2 separate regions of the Homo sapiens genome follow, and region 1 is linked to region 2. Evidence: promoter capture Hi-C in 16 types of primary human blood cells and fetal thymus (Javierre and others, 2016). All regions are on one chromosome and are shown on one strand. Each heading gives the region's core, a stretch centred on a gene start or on the middle of the fragment in contact. The rest is flanking DNA. Distances are from core to core; before and after follow the strand shown. Region 1 overlaps NOTCH2 (notch receptor 2). Region 2 holds the start of ADAM30 (ADAM metallopeptidase domain 30).

Evidence for each region. Contacts are between HindIII fragments. The CHiCAGO score rates a contact against its expected background, and 5 or more counts as called.
Region 1: a contact is called between a fragment that was not itself captured here and the fragment with the promoter of ADAM30 in region 2, in 12 of 17 cell types (erythroblasts, M0 macrophages, M1 macrophages and 9 more). The highest score is 14.4, in erythroblasts.

What each region holds. Positions count from the first base shown.
Region 1 is chr1:119,935,840-119,938,594 of GRCh38, reverse strand. It overlaps NOTCH2 (notch receptor 2), which reads left to right. Exons shown (of 34, transcript NM_024408.4): 20 at 585-738; 21 at 1,129-1,313. Among named protein-coding and RNA genes, the nearest start is that of ADAM30, 41 kb to the right of the region's middle. RefSeq lists an enhancer at 1,630-2,355. The HindIII fragment of the contact is 1,189 bases long and covers 746-1,934 here.
Region 2 is chr1:119,895,235-119,897,934 of GRCh38, reverse strand. ADAM30 (ADAM metallopeptidase domain 30) reads left to right here and starts at 1,420. Exons shown (of 1, transcript NM_021794.4): 1 at 1,420-2,700. The coding sequence starts at 1,599. The HindIII fragment of the contact is 9,342 bases long and covers 1-2,700 here.

The sequences.
Region 1 (2,755 bases), core at 91-2,590, 41 kb before region 2:
CCCAGCAAGCCTGCCATATTGGTTAGTGTTGCTTTCTGAGCTGTGTGGTGGTAAGAGGTGCTGACGGTTTTGCTTTGCAAACATTTATTCCTTGACTTGACCTGCCACCACTAGGACTGCTATTACTCATGGATTCACCAAAAATTGGATAAATAATTATCTTGTTTTTATTAATATTTCTTAAATGAATGTATAGCTTGTTTATTTTAATGTTTAATATCAGAAGTGGGTGTTAATTTGAAGTTTAGTGATTTTTTTTTTAACCAGAAATAAGTAGAGGAACTTAACTCTTTTTTATATCAATTAGACTGTGGTAAAATTGGTTTCGTTATATATCGTTGTCCTTAAAGTCACAGTTTCCAAGAACCTAATGATGACATTAAGTGAAGACTTAACGGTACGTAAAAATGGTTAGGTGTACCTCGGAACACTGAATCTAGTTTAAGGGCTCTTTTACTAGATGAAGGCTCTTTTTCTTTTTAATCAGTTTGCTTTTCTTTGATTTCTTGTAACACAATATAACTTCTTTTCTTCATTTCTAGTATTTGAATTTTGATGTATGTACACCCCTGCCTCTGTTTCAGACCCTGGTGAATCTCTGCAGTCGGTCTCCATGTAAAAACAAAGGTACTTGCGTTCAGAAAAAAGCAGAGTCCCAGTGCCTATGTCCATCTGGATGGGCTGGTGCCTATTGTGACGTGCCCAATGTCTCTTGTGACATAGCAGCCTCCAGGAGAGGTAAGCTTTGCTCCCTTGGGCTCAGGTCATTCACTGCAGTATTGACTGTCCAGTGGCATTTAGAGAAGGTATCATTTTTTTGTGGAATAAGAGGGAAGGGCAGATAGTAGTGGGTGGGCAGGGCTCTGGGGAAAGGGCTCAAGACAGAAGGTGTAAGGGTAGAGGAATAGGTTCAGAGATTCGGAGAAGAATGTATTTGAAATGAAACTAAGGTATATTCCACTTTCAGGGTTTATTTTTAATATGCATCTGGTACTGAGGGTTGTGAAGAACTGGCTAAGAATAAGATTGGATGTGTCAGCCAGTTTAGATTTACTTGCTCATTGGTTGATTTGAACCCCATGTGTCACATGTTCTTCTATGACATTTCTCCCTCACTGGGTTTCCCAGGTGTGCTTGTTGAACACTTGTGCCAGCACTCAGGTGTCTGCATCAATGCTGGCAACACGCATTACTGTCAGTGCCCCCTGGGCTATACTGGGAGCTACTGTGAGGAGCAACTCGATGAGTGTGCGTCCAACCCCTGCCAGCACGGGGCAACATGCAGTGACTTCATTGGTGGATACAGATGCGAGGTGAGGACACTGAGCAAGCAGAGGTCATGGACCTCCCAGGAGATTGTACAACTGTTTGAGCACTGATATATTGAATTTAGCTGCTTGTATCTTATATTGATAGTTTATAGATTTTTACCAATCCCCGTCATAATGTTTACCACTGTTTCTTTCAGCCTCTCTGTGCAATAAGTTAACAGGTCCCTAGTATGATATTTTTATAGGCGTCTGGAACCATCCCAGCTCCTTAGGCTTGCTTTTAGGATTCAGAGCCAAGAGTCACTACCAGAGTGCATTTTACAGGCCCACCCAACATAGCAGTCCACACTTCCCTGAATAGCAGCTGAGATAGGAAAAACTGCTTTGTGGAGTGTCCCTTTGGCCCCTGTCACCTTTGTATTTAGTCATTAATCAGTCAACTAGCAATTTTCTCTCAAAAAAAAAAAATGTTGCTCATCCTGTTCCCCATAGCATCATGCTAAACGTTACATGTATATATTTGAGGAAGTATGTGTCTTCAAGGTACATGTCACTATTTTAATGTCTGGGCTGATAATGGTTAGAGCAAGCAAGATATTAGCAAAATGCCTGAGACATTAATTTGATACCAATTCAAACCATCAAGCAACACTGAGAAAAGCTTTGCTTCTCTATTGTTATATAAATGAGCCAACGATAGCTTCTGTATTTTGGCCCCTAGGTTGTTTATTTCTTCACAGCAGGCTGGGGCTGGGTCTCATTAGCTCAAAAGCCTACCAGTGCCAAACCCAAATTTTGACACATCTAGTTGTTTTAAACATAGCCCCCAAATAAGCAGATTTTTAGCTATTTAGAGCTTGCCTGCTTTGCATAGCCTGTAAAACTGCAGCCAAAATCTGCTAGCCATAGTATAAGTAGGACAAGATATACCCTGGGGCCATACAGACCCCAGGCTGATGCTGGCCTTTAGAGCTCTCTGACCCAGAGATTCCTGCCACTGGCTGTTGAGTGACATCACCTAGACTCCTTCTCTGATCCTTCTTTCCCAGAGTTTACTTGCTGTCTTCCCCTTACTCACCTACCCCTCTGGAAGGTCTCATGCTATTTGGGACTTCTCCCAGGTGCAAACCTGTCAAAGTGTCCAAATAAAGCCACCTCACAGCCATATCTTTTTTCTTGGTCAGCCCTGAAATCCTTCCAACCCCTACAGCCACCACAGCCAGCCAGCCAGCCCCACCTCCCTCTACCCCTAAGCCTATCTCAACCAGTTTCTCACACATAGATCCAATTTCCTAAACCTGGAGATCAATAATTGCATGTCTGTACTACCATCCACATATGCCTTTTGACCGAGTCATAGGGTCCTCATCACATACGGAGGAATGTGTATTTTAAAGATGAGGAAACCTGTACCCAGGAGGAACAAAAGGTTTGCACACAAGTCAAATCTGAAACATCCTTCATTGTATTCAGTCCTTGCCTTC
Region 2 (2,700 bases), core at 171-2,670:
AGAGCTTTTCATATTTATTTCCTTTATCTAAATCTATTTGTTCTGATGTTTTTCTTCTTTGAGTGGTTAGAACCATGACACACACATACACCTAAGCCAGAAACATCAACATTCTTTTTCATTTTTGCCTCTTTCATTCTGGGAGAATCCATGCAAGCATTAAGTCCAGCAGAGTCTAAGTGGTTTTAAATCTCTTGGAGCTGTCAACTTTTGTCCTTCCCTAAAGAGACAACAGAGTTGACTAGTAAAGAACACAGGCTCCGGGTAGAGTTGCCTAAATGTTCACAGGGATTGCTTCAGCTGACGCCACCTTCTGAACCATGGTACGGTTTTCATGTCCTCATGTGCAAAGTATGGGTGATAATAGTAGTACCTATAACCTAGGGTCATGGTGAAGATTTAATGGGCTGATTTATGCAGAGCATAGCGGGGTGTGTAGCATGAAACGAGCCAGTCTTCCATAAGTACTGCTTATTATCAGCCCTAAGGCCATGCTTTCTGCCAACAGACAACATTGCTTGGTACAAGAGCTTTTAACTAGTCTCCCTGACTCAAGCCTGTTCCTTTTTAACCTTTCCTTGTAATTCAGCCAGATGGAATCTCCCAGGAACAAAACTGAAAATATTCCTCTCTTATCAGAATCCCTCAGAATCACCTCATGACCTTCCGATTTGCCCTTTTACGGACGATAAACCCTTCCATTTTCTGAGCCAGAGGCTTCTTCCTTTGTGGAGTCAGCCTCATCGCTCGACTAGGAACATAACCAGCTATCTACCTTTCTCAGAAAGCACTTGGGTTTGCTCTTATAACAGGCACTTTTTCTAGGTTCTTCCCACCATTGCACATGGACACACAAAAATTACACTGACCCCTGGCACCCCAAAGACAAACAGCAGAAAGCACTCCCAGGCAAAATGAGCTCAGGACCTTTCTGTTGCCTGGGCCCACAACTAAGGTTCAGGGCCTTCTCTAAAAAGAAGCCGCAGCCGAAGACAGAGGAACTGCCCAGAGTGGGGCTGGGGGTGTGGAGTCTACGCTGATACTTTCAGGCTGTTTCCACTCTTGCTGGTTCTGATGCTCCTTTCTTTTGCCACAAGCAACCCTAGTGGAAAACTGGGAAATGTCCAACAATGAAGTTAGGACAGTGGCCCATAAAACATCGGATTCCAACCTGTGTCCTAAGGTGTAAAGACACAGAGTAAAGGCAAAGATACAGTGAGCCTTTAACACGTTCTCCTTTGTTCTTCCTATTTCTCTATTCCTTCTCCATTTCCGATGGTGTTCTCTACCCTCTCTCCAACCCACGTGCCAACAGCCCCTCTTTTCTCTTTTATTCTCGCCCACGTTTCCCTCCTTTCTTCCACCTGCGCCCAACGGTACGGCCCGGAAAACGAACTGGATGCGTTGGACAGGTCACGCGCGCATTGCGGACGCCAGCTAGACCGAGCCCTGGGAGGCTACGGGCTCCCCCGGAAACCCTGCCAGGGGAGCCGGGTTTTGAGCTCAGGCGCCTCTAGCGGCGGCCCCCAGAAATCTGACTCGCGAGGCCAGAGTTGCAGGGACTGAATAGCAAACTGAGGCTGAGTAGGGAACAGACCATGAGGTCAGTGCAGATCTTCCTCTCCCAATGCCGTTTGCTCCTTCTACTAGTTCCGACAATGCTCCTTAAGTCTCTTGGCGAAGATGTAATTTTTCACCCTGAAGGGGAGTTTGACTCGTATGAAGTCACCATTCCTGAGAAGCTGAGCTTCCGGGGAGAGGTGCAGGGTGTGGTCAGTCCCGTGTCCTACCTACTGCAGTTAAAAGGCAAGAAGCACGTCCTCCATTTGTGGCCCAAGAGACTTCTGTTGCCCCGACATCTGCGCGTTTTCTCCTTCACAGAACATGGGGAACTGCTGGAGGATCATCCTTACATACCAAAGGACTGCAACTACATGGGCTCCGTGAAAGAGTCTCTGGACTCTAAAGCTACTATAAGCACATGCATGGGGGGTCTCCGAGGTGTATTTAACATTGATGCCAAACATTACCAAATTGAGCCCCTCAAGGCCTCTCCCAGTTTTGAACATGTCGTCTATCTCCTGAAGAAAGAGCAGTTTGGGAATCAGGTTTGTGGCTTAAGTGATGATGAAATAGAATGGCAGATGGCCCCTTATGAGAATAAGGCGAGGCTAAGGGACTTTCCTGGATCCTATAAACACCCAAAGTACTTGGAATTGATCCTACTCTTTGATCAAAGTAGGTATAGGTTTGTGAACAACAATCTTTCTCAAGTCATACATGATGCCATTCTTTTGACTGGGATTATGGACACCTACTTTCAAGATGTTCGTATGAGGATACACTTAAAGGCTCTTGAAGTATGGACAGATTTTAACAAAATACGCGTTGGATATCCAGAGTTAGCTGAAGTTTTAGGCAGATTTGTAATATATAAAAAAAGTGTATTAAATGCTCGCCTGTCATCAGATTGGGCACATTTATATCTTCAAAGAAAATATAATGATGCTCTTGCATGGTCGTTTGGAAAAGTGTGTTCTCTAGAATATGCTGGATCAGTGAGTACTTTACTAGATACAAATATCCTTGCCCCTGCTACCTGGTCTGCTCATGAGCTGGGTCATGCTGTAGGAATGTCACATGATGAACAATACTGCCAATGTAGGGGTAGGCTTAATTGCATCATGGGCTCAGGACGCA